Linked DNA regions of Homo sapiens: region 2 is linked to region 1. Evidence: promoter capture Hi-C in human tissues and cell types (Jung and others, 2019). All regions are on one chromosome and are shown on one strand. Each heading gives the region's core, a stretch centred on a gene start or on the middle of the fragment in contact. The rest is flanking DNA. Distances are from core to core; before and after follow the strand shown.

Region 1 (7,720 bases), core at 2,862-5,361:
AGCTGTGTTGGCCAAATGGAATGGCTCTGCTCCCAGGACCCTGTTTGGACTGGGCCCCCAGGCCAGGACTATAGCTCAGGGCCCTGGCCTTCTCCCCGGGGAGAGCTGATAAACCGATGGGAAGTGAGAAGAGGGAACTGTGACAAGTCAAAGAGTGACCATGCCAGGCGAAGGGCCGTTGCTGGCTTAGGGCCCCACAGCAGGAATGGAAGACATCTGCCTGGCATCCCTGCCCCCTGACTCCTAGGCTCTGTCCCTTCTCAGGCCCGGGTGAGGGTGCAGTGAGATGGTGCAGCTGATGCTCACCACAGGCCAGGCAAGTGCCAGCCCCTCCATTCCCATGTGTGATTGTCTCCCAAGGCCATTCCCAGAGCCACGTCACGTGACCGAGCAGGGACAGGTCCTGCACTGTTCCAGATGCAGCTTGGCTCAGGCTCCTATGTGGGTGCCCTCGGGAAGTGTTGGGGACTCATCCTCGCCCTCCAGCGGGGCAGCTCACTGCTCTGCACAGCCCCTACTCCACCTATCAAGGTCTATCTCCCAGGAGGTGGGATGGGGCGGTCCAGGGAGGAGGCAGGGCAGGCAGACAGGCCAGGCAGCGAGAAGGCAGGGCGGGACGGGCAGCACCAGCTGTGTTCGGCTGAGGCGTGGCGGTGGGGAGTCCAGAAATATCTGCAGGGCGGGGTGAAGAGCAGGCTCTGGCCAGCCCCGCAGGAGCAGCCCAGGAGTAACATCACTGGAGAAACCACTGTGAGCCTGGCACTGGGAGCACGCCCCTGCCTGGGGCTGCCGCACTGCTGGGTGGGCACAGCCCTGGGTAGCAACCAAAACTCCAACCCCTCCGGCAAATCTGGACCACAGCAGGGAGAGGGCTTGGGGAATTCTTGGGGCTTCTGAGCTCCTCCCACTCACTGCTCTTTTATGGGGAGAGGGAGGGAGGGGGCAGAGGATGGAAAAGGATGTCTTTCCAGCCAACTTGATTGAGTCAGAGGAAATTTAACCATTTGATACCTGTCAAGTCTCACAAAACTTGGCCGACTCTCCCCACAAATTATTGCAAAAAGCAATCACGTGACTGGAGTCAACCAATGGCGTGTAGAGGAGATGACCTCAATTTCCAAATATTGGGGTCATGTTTCATTTCCCATACTCTCCTTCCCCGTTACACTGTTCAGCAGCCCCAAATGCAATCTTACTTTTCATTCCTTCACACACTTGGCCAAAAGAAAGCAGGCAAAAGAACTGTGTTCAGAAAACCCTCAGAAAACATCTGGCAGATCCGAAGATGGAGAAGACAGCAGGCACTTGCTGGTGGCTCCCCCCCGCGCCTGCCTCTCCAGTGGACAGCCGCCCCCTCCCCGCCACGCCTGCATTTCCAGTGGACAGCCGCCCCCTCCCCCCAGCGCCTGCATCTCCAGTGGACAGCCGCCCCCTCCCCGCCACGCCTGCATCTCCAGTGGACAGCCGCCCCCTCCCCCCAGCGCCTGCATCTCCAGTGGACAGCCGCCCCCTCCCCCCAGCGCCTGCATCTCCAGTGGACAGCCGCCCCCTCCCCCCAGCGCCTGCATCTCCAGTGGACAGCCGCCCCCTTCCCCCAGTGCCTGCATCTCCAGTGGACAGCCGCCCCCTCCCCCCAGCGCCTGCATCTCCAGTGGACAGCCGCCCCCTCCCCGCCACGCCTGCATCTCCAGTGGACAGCCGCCCCCTCCCCCCAGCGCCTGCATCTCCAGTGGACAGCCGCCCCCTCTGGCCATGCTCGAAGGATGACTTCCAAATAGGTCCCACCCTGGGAGGTGGAGAGACGTTGGCAAAACTCACTAAGAAAAGTGGTCTCTCCACATGCTTCTAAAAGTCTGTTCTGACAAAAGCAAAATGTCCAACTCCATAGCCTGCTGCTCTGGGCCATCCTCACTCCCACTTCCAACGAGCCGCACTTCGATTAGCGAGGGCAACCAGAGAGGGAAAAAGACAGTGTGGAGGTGGGGAGATGGGCAGGGAGGGAAATGGAACCCCAAGCCCAGTCCGGTGCATGGTCCCCAGGCAGTGCCCTGCCCCAGCTGTCTAGGGTGACGATTCCCCTGAAGGACTCCCTCCTGAGTTTCTGGGGAAAAGTCCCCAGAGGCGCTGAGACAGGGCCTAGTCCCCCGGCAATGGCACAGTCCCTGACCACACCTTCCTTCTCCTCTCCACTTTTCTGGGGACCTCTGTTGTCCCCCACCTTCAGCTAACCCCTGGAGAAACACAAGCCCAGTTAGCCCAGGGTCAGGAGAGAGTTGGTGGCGGCCCAGGGATGAGATCCCAGGTCCTGGGAGCCAGGCCAGGCTCCTGGCTCCTCCCCCAGAGCCCCAGGGCAGCCCCCACACCCAGACTCCAGCTCATCCAGTTAGCCCAACAAGCACTGATCGTGCCAGGGAAAAAGGAAAAGAGTGTTTTAATTGACAAGCGGAACACGGACAATGATTCTTCCCACTTGTCTTCCAATCGTGAAGCAGAGAGAAGCATTCTTGCTGGCAGGCGGCGGGCTGGTCCAGACGTTCGCTGAGCCCACCGTCCCATCGCTCTGCCCGCCACTTCTCCTGACCTGGCAGCACACAGCTCTGAGCCTCCATCTCCCCGCCTGTCAATAAGGATTCGGGGGACCTTCCAGGGCTGGGGGCTCTGATGTTCGAGAGTCTGTGAAAACCCACCCCGCCACTAACTACCAAGAGCGATGCCTAGAAAAACTCCCCCGTCAGGAAGCTGCGCCAGGGAGAGTTGAACCCTCGAGAACCCAGGCAGGGACGCAGACAGTCCCCGCCTTGAAGCGCCCTCCCCGGGAAGCAAGCCTCCTTCTAAGGGCTGACCCTTGGCAGAAGGAATCCCACATCTGCATATCATCCCAACCACTCACAGCCCCGCCTGCAAGCCCATCTCTGGCTTTGCTCCACGCATCCCATCTCTCAGCAGCGAATCCAGGAAAAGCTGCCTTCCAGGGATCAAGAAGTTTGGGGGTGGGATTAGGAGCAGGGCTGTCTACCACCCTGCAGGGGTCCCCAGTGCCCCCGAACACTTAGGTGACCAAGGCTGCAGGAAACGCTGTCCCTGGGGAAAGCAGGGCGCCAGCTCAGCCTAGAGTGACAGTGCCTGGGGGAAGTTCAGTGCTGGGGGCCCAGGCTTCTGGGATTCCCCCCATCCCCAGGAGTCCCGGGATTTGAAGGGCTGTAACTCTAGGGGGCGGCCCTGCCCGGTTTGGAGCAGAGGAAGTTCTGCTGTAGGGCTGTGAGGGCCCAAGCTGGGCGCCTGTGATGTGGGACAGAGAAGGAAGGTTTTTGGGACAAAAGTTTGCCCGCCTCGTGGACAACCCCTCCTGCTGATCCAGCCCTCGGTCCTTCCTCGGCTCGCGCGACAGCCCCACCCGACCCGCCCGTCTGGGGAGGGGGCGGCGGCGCGCCCGCGGGCATTGTGTCTGCGTGTCGTCATCTCGGGGGGGCCCCCAGCAAATGGCATTCGTGGTCTTGGCCCGTGCATTCCACAGGCCAAGGAAGAAAAGTTCTGCGGGCGAAGGCGCCCGGGGATGACAGCGGCGCCCGGGCTGCGCGCGCCCCATCCCGCAGCCCCGCGCCCCGGGGCGCCCTTACCTGCGCGGCTCGGAGGCGGCGCCCACAGCAGCAGCAGCAGCAGCGGGGGCAGCAGCGGGGCGCCCGGGCGGAGCGCGCTGCGCGCTTTCCAGCGGGTATGGACGTCCATGCCGGCGGGGCGCGGGCCGGGGCGCACAGGGGCGCTCGGAGGCGCGCGGGGACGCACAGGGGCGCGGGTCACGGCCCGGGCAGCGCACTCAGCAGGGACCGCACCACTTTAGGAGGTCATGGGGACCTCGGCACCCCCCGTTCTTCTTTGTGGCGGCGGCTGTTCTGGAAGGGGCGGCTGGCGCGCTCGCCCACGGGCGGGAGGGCTCGACTTTGGCCCGCGGGGCGGCCGGGACCCCGCTGGGCTAGCTCGCCCTCGCCTCCTCCTCCTCCTCCTCCAACTCCTTCTCGCCTCCTCCTCGCCGCCGCCGCCCCGCGACCCGCTCCCCGTGGGCGCTCCGCTCGAGTGAGGTCCTGCGCCAGCCGCGGGGACGGAGAGTGCGGACCTCGCCTTCGGCGCGGAGCACTTTTTTCCCCCTTTTCCTCCCTCCCTCTCTCCTGGAAGGCAGCCGCGGAGGCTGTCGATCCCCAACGCCCGCAGCAAATCAGAGCCCGGCGCTGGGCTCGGCGAGGCCAGCCCCCGCCTCCCACTGGGCGCCGCGGGCGAGGGGGTGGGGACAGCGGGCGAGTCGCAGCGAGGAAGGGGCTGGCCCGGGGCGGAGCGGACGTGGGGCGGGCGCGGCCCCCTGTTCTTTCTCTGAGAGCCGGTAGGCGGGCGGGCCTGGGGCGGCCTCGGAGCCCAGGGGCCCACCCTGGTCCCCCCACTGTTCCCACCCCAGGTGCCCGCACCTGGCCATGCTCCAAGAACCAGTGCAGAGGGGCCCCGAGGTTTGATCACTTCGGGTTAAAAAGAAAGTTGCAGTTTACCCCGCCTAACTTTTTCTTTAACGTGGAGGAGTTCAGAGCTCCTCTTCTGGGTGGAGACTAAACTTCCCATCCAGCCAGATCAGGGCGCCCAAGACTGTGGCCTACGTGTCAACCCGGACCGAGGACCTGCCTCCTAACTGCAGATTGGCACGGGACCGAGCTGGGGTCTGACTTCCCAAGAGCTCCCGGGACCTCCATGTGCTTGGACGGGAACATCTGGGTTATTAATCAGGCGAAGTTTGGCTCTGCGGCCCCCAGGCTCTCACCCCTCACTCCTGCCCACTCCCTGGTGGCCCCTCTGCAATAAAAAGGAAACCAAAGAAGGCATCCCCTTGGGAGTGACAGCTGGCGCAGGGAGAAGGCATTCCTGATCGGCTGCTCTCGGAGAAGAGCTGGGGCCCTGATTCTCCTGCCTGGCTTCTTTAAGCCCCTCGGGGTCTCCTCCAGCAGGAGGCCCGCCAGTCTCTGGGTGGTAGGTGGGCGTCTCTCCCTCCAGCTTCCCCAGGCCTGGCCTCCCTGCACAGCCTCCTGAAGCCTGACCCACACCCCTTCCCCAAGGGCTGCAGGGCTAGTTTTTTAAAAGGAGGGAATCAGAATGAATTAAGAACGATTTGCAAACCCTGGGCCATCCCCATTCCCTTTGAACAAACAATTTAGCCAGAGATGCCAGACAGGGCTGGGACTCCCCTCTCCAGTTACATCTCCAGACTGGGCGTGAAATTCCCCAAATGCTCTTTAATTCTCACCATTCTGGAAACAGGAGGTGAGAGAGGCGTCCGAGGTTAGGTTTGCCAGGATAGCCATGGCAGGCTCCGGAGCTGGGTGATAGGTCGCTGTTGCTAACTTGGTGATGAGGCTTTTAGTCTCCATATCTGCCACATGCGCTTGCATAGATATCAAATATTTCGCAGGAAAAGAATGAGAAGCTCTTCACACACAGACGTGGGGAGGTGCTTGAGATACATTCAGTAAAGCAAATGTTAGTTCTGACCTGTTTCCTTGTTGATTTTATTTTGTTTTACAACTTGTATAAGGCATATGTGATCAGGCAAAAATGTGTGTGAGTTGTGTGCATGTGTGTGTTTGTGTGTGTGCCTGTGTGCGTGTCTGTGCGTTGGTTAACCTGCAGCCACTGGCCCTTTACTTTCCCTGTGGACTTCAATGAGTGAGAAATTCCATCAAACCCCAGACTCCGCGCCAGCCCCAGCTGTGCTTGGTCCTTGGAGTGCCCCCGCCCCTACCAGCAAGGCCAGCTTCACCCCTGAAGACTAGGGGTGCTGACACAGGCCATGGCCTGGTTATCAGAAGAGAGTGGAGGCTTTCTGGTTCCAGCTTCTTTTTCCCCAAGCACAAGTGGAGTTCCTTTCTGACAGTCCCATGTGCACATCCGTGCCAGTCAGCAAGCCCTCCTGTAACTCACAGCCAGCATCTAAACTTTGCCCTGAATTAACACAACTGGCGCCTTAAGAGCTGACACTCAAGTGACCACCCCAAGGTCCCCCAAAAGTTGACTTCTCAGCAATGGTAAGATGGCTCAGTCTTGCAGCTCAAGCAGCCATGACAGATGCACTTTATCCTCTCTTGGAGAGCAAGTGGTGCGGTGGCTTGGAAAGCTGTCAAATGTGAGTTTCCACCCTCATCTGAGCCTTGAGTTGGGTGGAGAGATGAGTTTCTATCCCACCAGGAAACTCAGAGAGAAGTCCCCAAACTTGGCGGCCTGATGTGTCAGCCAGGGACTATGGCAGAATGGCCCGGCAGTACCAATCAGGATTCGAACTGTGTTGCCAAGCTAAGAATATCAGCCACATCTTAAGGCTTTTGCCTCACACTCTTCACCCACACGTGCATCAGTTCTCATGCACCGGTAGGGAATACTGGCATCTCTCCCATCCACAGATGAGGAAATCAGGGGCCACAGAGGGTAGGGGACTTACCCAGTTCATCCGTGACAGGGTCCGGATTTGGACCCAGGTCTCCATGCTTGGAGCCCAGTGTGCACTGCCTGCCTCCCCATGGCATCCGGACCACACGCCTGCCGCCAGGACCACCCTGCCCAGATTCAGACAACAGCAACTGGTGCAGATTGTCCCAAACTCACCATGTTCCATGCCCTCCCACAACTGAGCAAAACCAGAGTCCTTGGAAAACTGCTTATTGCGCGCATACTCCTTGCCAACACCGCTCTAGGCTTTAGGGAGTATGTGGTGAGCAAGGTGCCTGGGTCCCTTCCACATTGACCTGCAATGCAGCAGTGACTCCCACGCCCATGCAGAGGTGGCCCCTTTTTTGCATGTGTGTCTTCCTTGTCTTCTGCTATCCATCGTTTCCCATCTAGCCCTCCCCGGCTGCCTGCTCCTGTTCATGGCACTCACCGCAGAAGGCTAACCAGGTCCTGTACCCTGTGTACTCCTGGGCCACCGGGAGCGCCACCACCCATCACTGCGTGTTTCCCACAGTGCCTAGCAGAGAGTGGAGCAGGCCAGGTGCCCTGCACCTTACACGTGGAGTCCGATGGCCCAACTTCTCCTTCCAAGGCTGTGTTTCCTCTCATTTATTTTTCGAGCGGCAGAGCTGTGGTCCGGACAGAGCGGCCATGGCAACCATCAGGTGTTGCTCTCATGTGGACCTGATGGTTCACCACCAGTCCTGAGGGGTCACACCAGCCTCCCAGAGTCACGTCTGGCTGGAAAATGGCCAGCTGCTTCCCAAGACAAAGGCCTTGAGGGGCAGCCAGATTGTCCCTTCTTCTTCTCCTAGACCCATGGAGGAGGTGGAGGAACAAGGTCTTCTTGGAGTGCCTGGAGGCAGATATCTGCTTGCCCTCTAAGCATTTATGGTCCAGAGACTGCTGAAGTGGGCCCAGGAGGGCCTGGGTGAGCCACGGCCTGGCAGAGGGGCTGGAAGCTGCCCCACTCTGTCCCATGCAGGGGAGGAGTTCCCTCTAGCTGCGCAAGGAGAATGCTCTGAACCTGCATCCGGCACCTGGGGCTGCAGCTGTGTCCTTCAGCTGATGTCCTGGGACCAGGCCAACTCCAGAGTCACACAGACTTCCGTTAGAATCCCAGCAGCACCAGCCACTAGCCACATGACCTTGGGCAAGAGGATTCTGTCTCTGAGCCTCAGTTTGTTATCTGTGAATGGGCGGTGAAGAAACTGACCGCTGGGGGGTCCCTGTGAAGCTCAGATGA
Region 2 (7,720 bases), core at 1,870-4,369, 48 kb before region 1:
CCCGAATAGCTGGGATTACAGGCGCGCACCACCACGTCCAGCTAATTTTTGTATTTTTGGTAGAGATGGAGTTTCACTATGTTGGCCAGGCTGGTCTCAAACTCCTGACCTTAAGTGATCCGCCTGCCTCAGCCTCCCAAAGTGCTGGGATTACAGGGTGAGCCACCGCGCCCAGCTGATCCTAGATTATTTATCCAATAATTAGCCCGTATTCCTGAGATACTGTAATATTTCTGGCCACAAGATAATCCAGCAGAGAAGGACAAAGTCCAGTGAGTGTGTGGTGCCCACACCCCAGAATTGGGTGACACAGAGAAGATTAAACAAAGTGGCTGAAGATCCCCTTGGAAAGCAGGAGCGCTTACTTCCCAGGGTGCCCCTCAGCGTGTCACACACCCAGAGTCCATGTGGTCCTCGGCAATCAGCTCTCTAAGCCCTTCCCTGGACCAGCCCTCCCAGGATCTCTAGGTCACGAATTCTAAACCGGGGGTCATGGGGCAGAAAAGGGTGCAATTTCTGGGCCAAGGTCCAAGTGAGGATTCCATGGCTAATTCCAAAAGAGATGCTCTCCCAGAAGCTTATGAACGCTCCTCCAGAGGCCTGGAGAAACGAAACCGCTGCAGTCCTTTGCGGGGACAGGCTGTCTGAGCCGATGAGTTCCACACGCTTGAGGCTGGGGATCCACAGCCCAGGGCCACTCTGGTACCCAGAGGTGGGCTGTTTAAGAGAATATGGGCTGCCAGGGGTCCCAGGCCACTTCACCTCACCTCCACCAAGCTGCAAGGCAGAGACTCGGTGCCTCGAAGGTGTTTCTTGAAATAACTCGTTCTCAAAAACATTCTTGAAAAGAACTGCCCAGATTCTCTCAGAGACAAACTCTTCAAGGTCACATGGATGTAAAGGAGGGCTGGGCAATGGCTGGGGATGAGTGTACAGAGAGCACGTCTGTGGAAGCAGAAACAGCCCCTCAAAAGAGGGTGTCCTTCAGGGGCCCCGTGGGGACACGATCATCAGAAACACCACGGAGCATTCAAAGACTGCCCTGATCGTGGGTTCAATGCCGGGGTCACCTCCAGGTCCACCAAAAAGATGCTGCGCTGTCTTCTAATAATTACAGAGCATCTCATAAAGTGAACTCACCTGCCCTACATCCCCCGTCCCTTTCTCATCTGAATCAGAAAGAGGAGCTCATTTTAGTCCAGGCCATGAGCAAGTGGCTGGGTCAAGGCGATGAGGTTCTCCATCAACAGCTCGTTAATCACGTCCAGATAAGCCCAGAGGGTTTAATTAACTGTGGCAGGTGCCGCCCCACGACTGGGTGACAGGGACAACTTGGATGCTGTATCTTAGAGCTAATGCTGCTTCCCGCTCCGGGCATGTAATTAAAAGCAGAGACCCGGCATTTAGCAGTTGACTCTCATTAAAAGCCTCCCATGCTCTTGCTAGGAGTCACGACGTTTGATTCATCGTCTCTTAATGTCACTGCCCCTGGTTAAGCTTCTGTCTGGAAGTGCTTCCTTTCCCACGACCCCGAGGTTTCTCTCAACCTCATCCCTCAGGACCCATCCGACTCTTTCTGCCCTTGGAGTCCTGGCGGCCCAGCTACCACCAGAGACACAGCTGATAGAAGGTCAAGGGCACTGGGCCACACCCACCCACCCACATCCAGCAGAGAAGGACAGTGACAAAGCCCAGTCCCGTCCAGAAGGACAAAATCCCACTGTTGCAACTGCCTTTTCACTACAGTGAAACGAAGCCGGGCTCGTGAGAGGGGCTTCCTGGAAAGCTGAGCCCGCTTCTGCCACCACGCAGGCTTGAGCGCTGCTCCTGGCTGGAGGCCAGAGGGCCAACGGGACCCACCGCCCCAAACAGAAGGGTGCGGCACTTACCAGGGTACAGCTGCTTGGTGGGTGCGCTGAGCTGCGCGTCTTTGGTGACTCTGTAAGCGACATCCGGGCCTTTGGAAGATCGCCGCGTGGCGCAAAAGCCTGTTGTCTTTGTTATTCCATCAGGCAAGTTGTGAAAATCTAGAACCTTCAGGAGATCTGCTGGCTGAGCTGAAATGACAGAGGAGGAGCAGAGTTAGCCACGGAGAGGAAAGGAGCACCTGGGAACACCCGGAAGCTGGGATGACAGGAAGCACCCCCACCCCCACCACTGTGAATCCTGGGCACTCAGAAGAGCCCCAGGACCAGCTTAGAGCCGCGTGCTGGGCGAGGCAGGGCACCACGCTGCGGAGGAGGGTCCCATCCTTGTCCCCACCAGCAGCCACATACCGGGGGCAGACCCAGGCTAGCCCAGAGGGTCCCATCCCTGTCCCCACCAGCGGCCACACACCAGGGGCAGACCCGGGCTAGCCCAGCTCTGACGACGCCCTCCTTCCTCACTGCGCTCTCGTGGCTCCTGAGGCTGGCAGGGGCCACACACCCAGCCTCCCAGACACCTCTTCTCATTGGCCACGTAAGGAGAGCAGCCCAGGCAGATGCTGGAAGGCCACAGAAGGCCCACTGCGGAGCTGACCGCCTTATGGTGTGCTGTGCAATGACACAGGAGAACCGGTGGGTCACAACATCTGCCCTGCAGCCCTGAGAACCTTCACCCCACCTGAGGCCCCTCCAGAGGTCACGGGGATGTCACTGGCCTAGTTTATCCCCCCGTCATTATCCACCTGGACTGTCTGTCGCCTTCCCATGACCGTTTACAGCGGGTGTGCAGTTTCCATTGCCCTGGAAGACCCCTGCCCACATCGCCAGACCATGCAGAGCCAAGAACAAGGGAGGGGCAGCCCCCGCATCCCTTCCAGAAGGTTCCTGACCCTCTATCCAGGGGCTCTCAGGGAAGGGCAAGGGGATAAGCTGACCTCTGGCCACTGAAGCCGTGATCATTACCAGGGAGCTCAATGGTCACCCTCCAACACAAAAGACGGCCCCATCTGCCAGAGCCTCCTTCCCCCACACCACGAGGACCCCAGACCTGCATCCACCACAAGGCGCGAATCCAGGAACCTGCCCTGAACAAGGTCAGTTTTATGGGAAAAGCACTGCTCCTGTGCCCACGAGCAAGAGGCTCCCTGGGAGTCCCGGCAGAGAAAATAAACTCGAAGTTGGCATCACAGCGACAGAATGGTGTGTGTTGGGGCGGCCTGGGAGTTGGAGGAACCCAGCAGCCGGCAACTGCCCTGCCCAGTAGATGTGGACGGGGTTGGCCGTGCCCCCTCTGCTGGCCAATCAGAGCATGACACCGCCCTGTCCCAGACGGTCAGCTCAGGGATGGACGTGAGACCAGCCAGGATAAGGAAGCTCCGTCCTGGGGCTTTTTTCCTTTGAGAAAGAGGAATCCTCCCTGCTCTGCTGGCTCCAAACACAGAACAGGAACCTGGAGCTGCTGGCAACTGTCTCCTGAGCAGGTGGAGAGTGCTTGCCTGAGGATGCAGAGAGACAGACTGGCCACACTGTTTGAGTAGCTGGATCAAGCTGTGCCTGACAGAAACCGGTGTATCCCTCTTTATGCTAATGCCAATTGGAGTTAGATCCCAACATCTGCTACTAAACAGTGCCCATCTCTGGGTGCAGTGGTGTGGGCCTCCTCAGCTATCAGTTCCCCGCTCTCTGGCCTGGCCCTCCTCCCCAGGGAGGAATGGTGATCAGCCTGCGACGGGCTCAAGAGGAAAGTCCCACCTTTTTCCCAAGGGCAGAAGGTTTGGAGGTGAGATGGGATGGCCACGCAGGTTTCCTCTCTGCTGGTTTTCAAGGACTCCTGCAGCCAGGGGCACCTGCAGCCTCGGCACTGCCACGGGAGGAGGTGGCTGCCAGAGACAATGGCGCAGTGTCACTGCTTGTCCCAGCAGGCCCTCAGCAAGAGGAGCACCCAGACGGAGGACTCTGTCTCCCCAGCACTCCCTGTCCCTCCAGGGGACTCAGCGCGGGCACTGTGCTTGGTGCGCAGGCCACAAGGAGGTACAGACAGGAACCTGTGCCACCCCCACCCCCGCCATGACCAGCTGACAGTGCAGGGAAGACAGCAGCCTGGGCAGGGCTCTGAAGGAGACCAGGGTGGAGGGAAATCGAAGCCGCATTTCTCATTCATGAAGCCCCTCCCCATCCACAGTTCTCTGGAAGGCTCCACAGTACCCAGGTCCCAGGGTTCTGAAGTCCCTGCCTCTGACGGTGTCATTTCTACAGCTTGGCTTTGCTGCAGTCCTCTGCCAATTAAATCAAGAAGCCAGAAACATGGAGAAGCTGAGGATTTCCCACTGCGGCGTGGGAACAGTGACAAAGGGGAGGGGCGGCACAGGGACCCAGAACACCCCACGTCCAGGCCTCTCATGGCCTCTCTGTTTTCCTGGGTGGCTTTCGGCTGCCAAGCAGGGCACAGCCCACCCAGCTCTGTCACCCCCTCGGGCATGTATGGCACCTCCCACCTGGCCCCAGCAAAGAAGGCTTTGGTGGGCTTTTGCCTTTGACTTGAGAAGAAACGCTGAGTGCCAGTGCCTGGTGAGGCTGCACCGCGCAGCCCTGGGCCTGGATGCAGCCCGTGGAAAGAGAGGATGCGCCAGCTGCCGGTCCACCTGCTGAAGATGACACAGTGCCGAGCCCTGGGTCATCCCTAAGACTCAATTCCAGCACTGGCAGCGGCCGGGGCAGGGGAGCAAGGATCCCGGCCGGGGCTTCCTGGACTCACACCATAACAAGCCCGTGATGCTCTTCCCAGACTCAGGCTCGCAAGCCTGTTTTCTCCATTGCTGAAGGCAAGAGCTGTTTTCCAGCAGGCTTGGTGGACATGTTCGCAGATCTCTGTTGCAACAAGTTTAAGAGGCCACCAGACCTTTCCCAGGCCTAGTGCCACCCCTCCTGCTGGCCAGGGGCTTCCTGTGCCAGAGCAGAGGAAAACATTAAGTACTTTTTGAAAAAGAAAAGGTTGGGGAGAGCCCAGGAGGAGCCTGGCGCACAGCCTTTCAGGAGCTTTTCTTCCAGCCTCCATCAGGATGAAAACTCCACTTGGACACAGCACAAGCTTTGGGGACAGGTGGACATGGGTTTGAAGCCAGTGGCACCCCCCACCAGAGGGTGGATCCCAGTGGGTCAAGGCCAGTGAGAGAAGCTGCAGAATCAACAGTGGCCACCGCACACTGGCCCGTGCACTTCCCGGCTCAACAAACAAGAGCCCCTCTCTTTTGCCCTTTTCTCCTAGACAGCCAGGCAGGGGCCCATCACCAGCAGTTCCCAGAGGACCCACCGAGCAGCCCAGGTGCTCAGTGAAGACGAGATGGCATCACGCGTGTGGTCTCCACACCCAGCCCGGTGCCTACTCTTTAGTGAAGGACCATGCAGCTGTGCCCAGAGGTTCCTGAGACCGACCATCTGATGCACAGAAGGCCAGCTCCGAAAGCTTCATGAAACAAAAACTTTGTTGATTCCATGGAACCCTCGCCATGACCGGATCACCTATGGGGTCAGTCCATCACATGGTGGATGGATGGATGGATGGATGGATGAATGGATGGATGGATGATGGATGGATGGATGGATGGATGGATGGATGGATGGATGGATGAAGTCCCAGAGAATAGCAGGTGTCCTGCTGTGCCTTGGCCACCCAAGCTCCAGCCCTGTCTCCTCTAGGCACCATCCTGCTCTGCAGTCTGGGGAGCTAAAAACTACACTTCCCAGGTGCCTTTGCATAAGGATGCAGGGTGCAAATTAGAATCTGCCAATCAGAGAGACTCATGGAGCTGGACAGTGAGAGGGAGGTGGCAGCCTCCTCCGCCCTGGCACAGCCAGCAGGGCCATATCCCCAGACACAGCATATGGAGGTGATCCTCATGTCCAGACCCCCACGCATGCCACGGCCTGGGACCAGCTTCAGGGCACCAGGCGGCATTGGCAGCAGCAACTTCCTGCAGTCTGGGTGGCAGCCTCGCTATGGTGGTGCAACCCCAAATGGGATAGTGGAGTGGGGCCTCCTGACCCCACCACGCCGGGTCTCCCGGAGACTGTATCCACCTGACTCCCTGCATTCAATCCCTTTCCCCATCGTGGCTTGCTCCCATCAGCTGTGTGCACTGAAACCAGGAGCCTCCCTGGAACCACCTATGGGACATGGGCCCAGCACAAGGCCACGGGCATCAGAATCTTTAAACTACAAGAAGTGTTTACCCCCAGCACCTAGGGGTCAGGCATCCTGCACAGCCTCGCTTGCCCAGGGAATACCTCTTGTCCATCCCCGAGTTGATCAGAGTTAGAGAAGTTGGCCCCTGCATCCCCTGCACTGTTACAAGTAGAAGTATTTGTCACTGGCATCCCAGAGGCCCATTTTCATGAGGATATAACCAGGCATCAGGTCCCCAGACCTATAAAGGAATGGACGCCAGCAAGGTCAGTTTTAAGGAAGAAGGGAGGTGACTGAAAAGAATTTGATGGCCAGGCGCGGTGGCTCAGGACTGGAATCCCAGCACTTTGGGAGGCCGAGGCAGGCAGATGGCTTGAGCTCGGGAGTTGGAGATCAACCTGGGCAACATGGTAAAACCCCGTCTCTACATAAATACAAAAATTAGCTGGGCTTGGTGGCATGCACCTGTGATCCCAGCTACTGAGGGGCTGAGGTGTGAGGCTCGTTTGACCCTGGGTGGTGGAGGTTGCAGTAAGCCAGGATCGTGTCACTGCACTCCAGCTTGGGTGACAGAGCATAACCTGGTCTCGAAAAAAAGGAAGAGAAAGAAGAAGAAAAAGGAGAAGGAGAAGGAGGAAGGAAGAAGGAGAATAATTTGGAAATGAAAGTTTGAGTTCTGCGTGGGTGTCATGCACCACAAAAGGCAGCACAAAGACCCTGATAAGAAATACAAGCAAGACTGCAGCACTGGCACATAGGAGGAGCTCAACACAGACATGCAGGATGGACGGATGAATGGATGGATAGTGGATAAATGAATGGTGGATAGATGGATGAATGGATGGATGGATGAATGGATGGATGGGTGGGTGGATGGATGGCTAATGGATGGATGGATGAGTGGATGGATGGATGGATGGTGGATGGATGGGTGGATGGATGAATGGATGGATGGATGGTGGCTGGATGGGTGGGTGGATGGATGGATGATGGACGATGGATGGATGATGATGGATGGATGGTGGATGGATGGATGGATGGATGAATGGATGGATAGATGGATGATGGACAATGGATGGATGATGGTGGATGGATGGTGGATGGATGGTGGATGGATGGATGGATGGATGAATGGATGGATAGATGGATGATGGACAATGGATGGATGATGGTGGATGGATGGTGGATGGATGGTGGATGGATGAATGGATGCATGGATGGATGGTGGATGGATGGATGGTGGATGGATGGATGATGGATGGATGGATGGATGGAGGATGGATGGATGGATGAATAGATGGATGGATGGATGCTGGATGGATGGATGGTGGATGGATGGATGGATGGATGGTGATGGATGGATGGATGGATGGACGGATGGATGGATGGATGAATGGATGGATGGATGGATGATGGACAATGGATGGATGGATGGATGGATGGATGAATTAATGGATGGATGGTGGATGGATGGATGAATGGATGGGTGAATGGATGGTGGATGGACGGATGGATGGATGGATGGACAGATGGATGGATGAATGGATGGATGGTGGATGGATGGATGGTGGATGGATGGATGGATGGATGACTTAATGGATGGATGGTGGAT

Evidence for each region. Contacts are between HindIII fragments. The study calls those that stand out against the background at their distance.
Region 2: a fragment that was not itself captured here is called in contact with the fragment with the promoter of COL5A1 in region 1 in 1 of the 25 tissues and cell types used here (mesenchymal stem cells).

What each region holds. Positions count from the first base shown.
Region 1 is chr9:134,638,194-134,645,913 of GRCh38, reverse strand. It overlaps COL5A1 (collagen type V alpha 1 chain), which reads right to left and starts at 4,111. Exons shown (of 66, transcript NM_000093.5): 1 at 3,618-4,111. The coding sequence starts at 3,726. RefSeq lists enhancers at 586-1,170, 2,426-3,132. The HindIII fragment of the contact is 11,057 bases long and covers 1-7,720 here.
Region 2 is chr9:134,685,249-134,692,968 of GRCh38, reverse strand. It overlaps COL5A1 (collagen type V alpha 1 chain), which reads right to left. Exons shown (of 66, transcript NM_000093.5): 2 at 1,890-2,057. Among named protein-coding and RNA genes, the nearest start is that of COL5A1-AS1, 36 kb to the right of the region's middle. RefSeq lists an enhancer at 3,389-4,179. The HindIII fragment of the contact is 4,164 bases long and covers 1,038-5,201 here.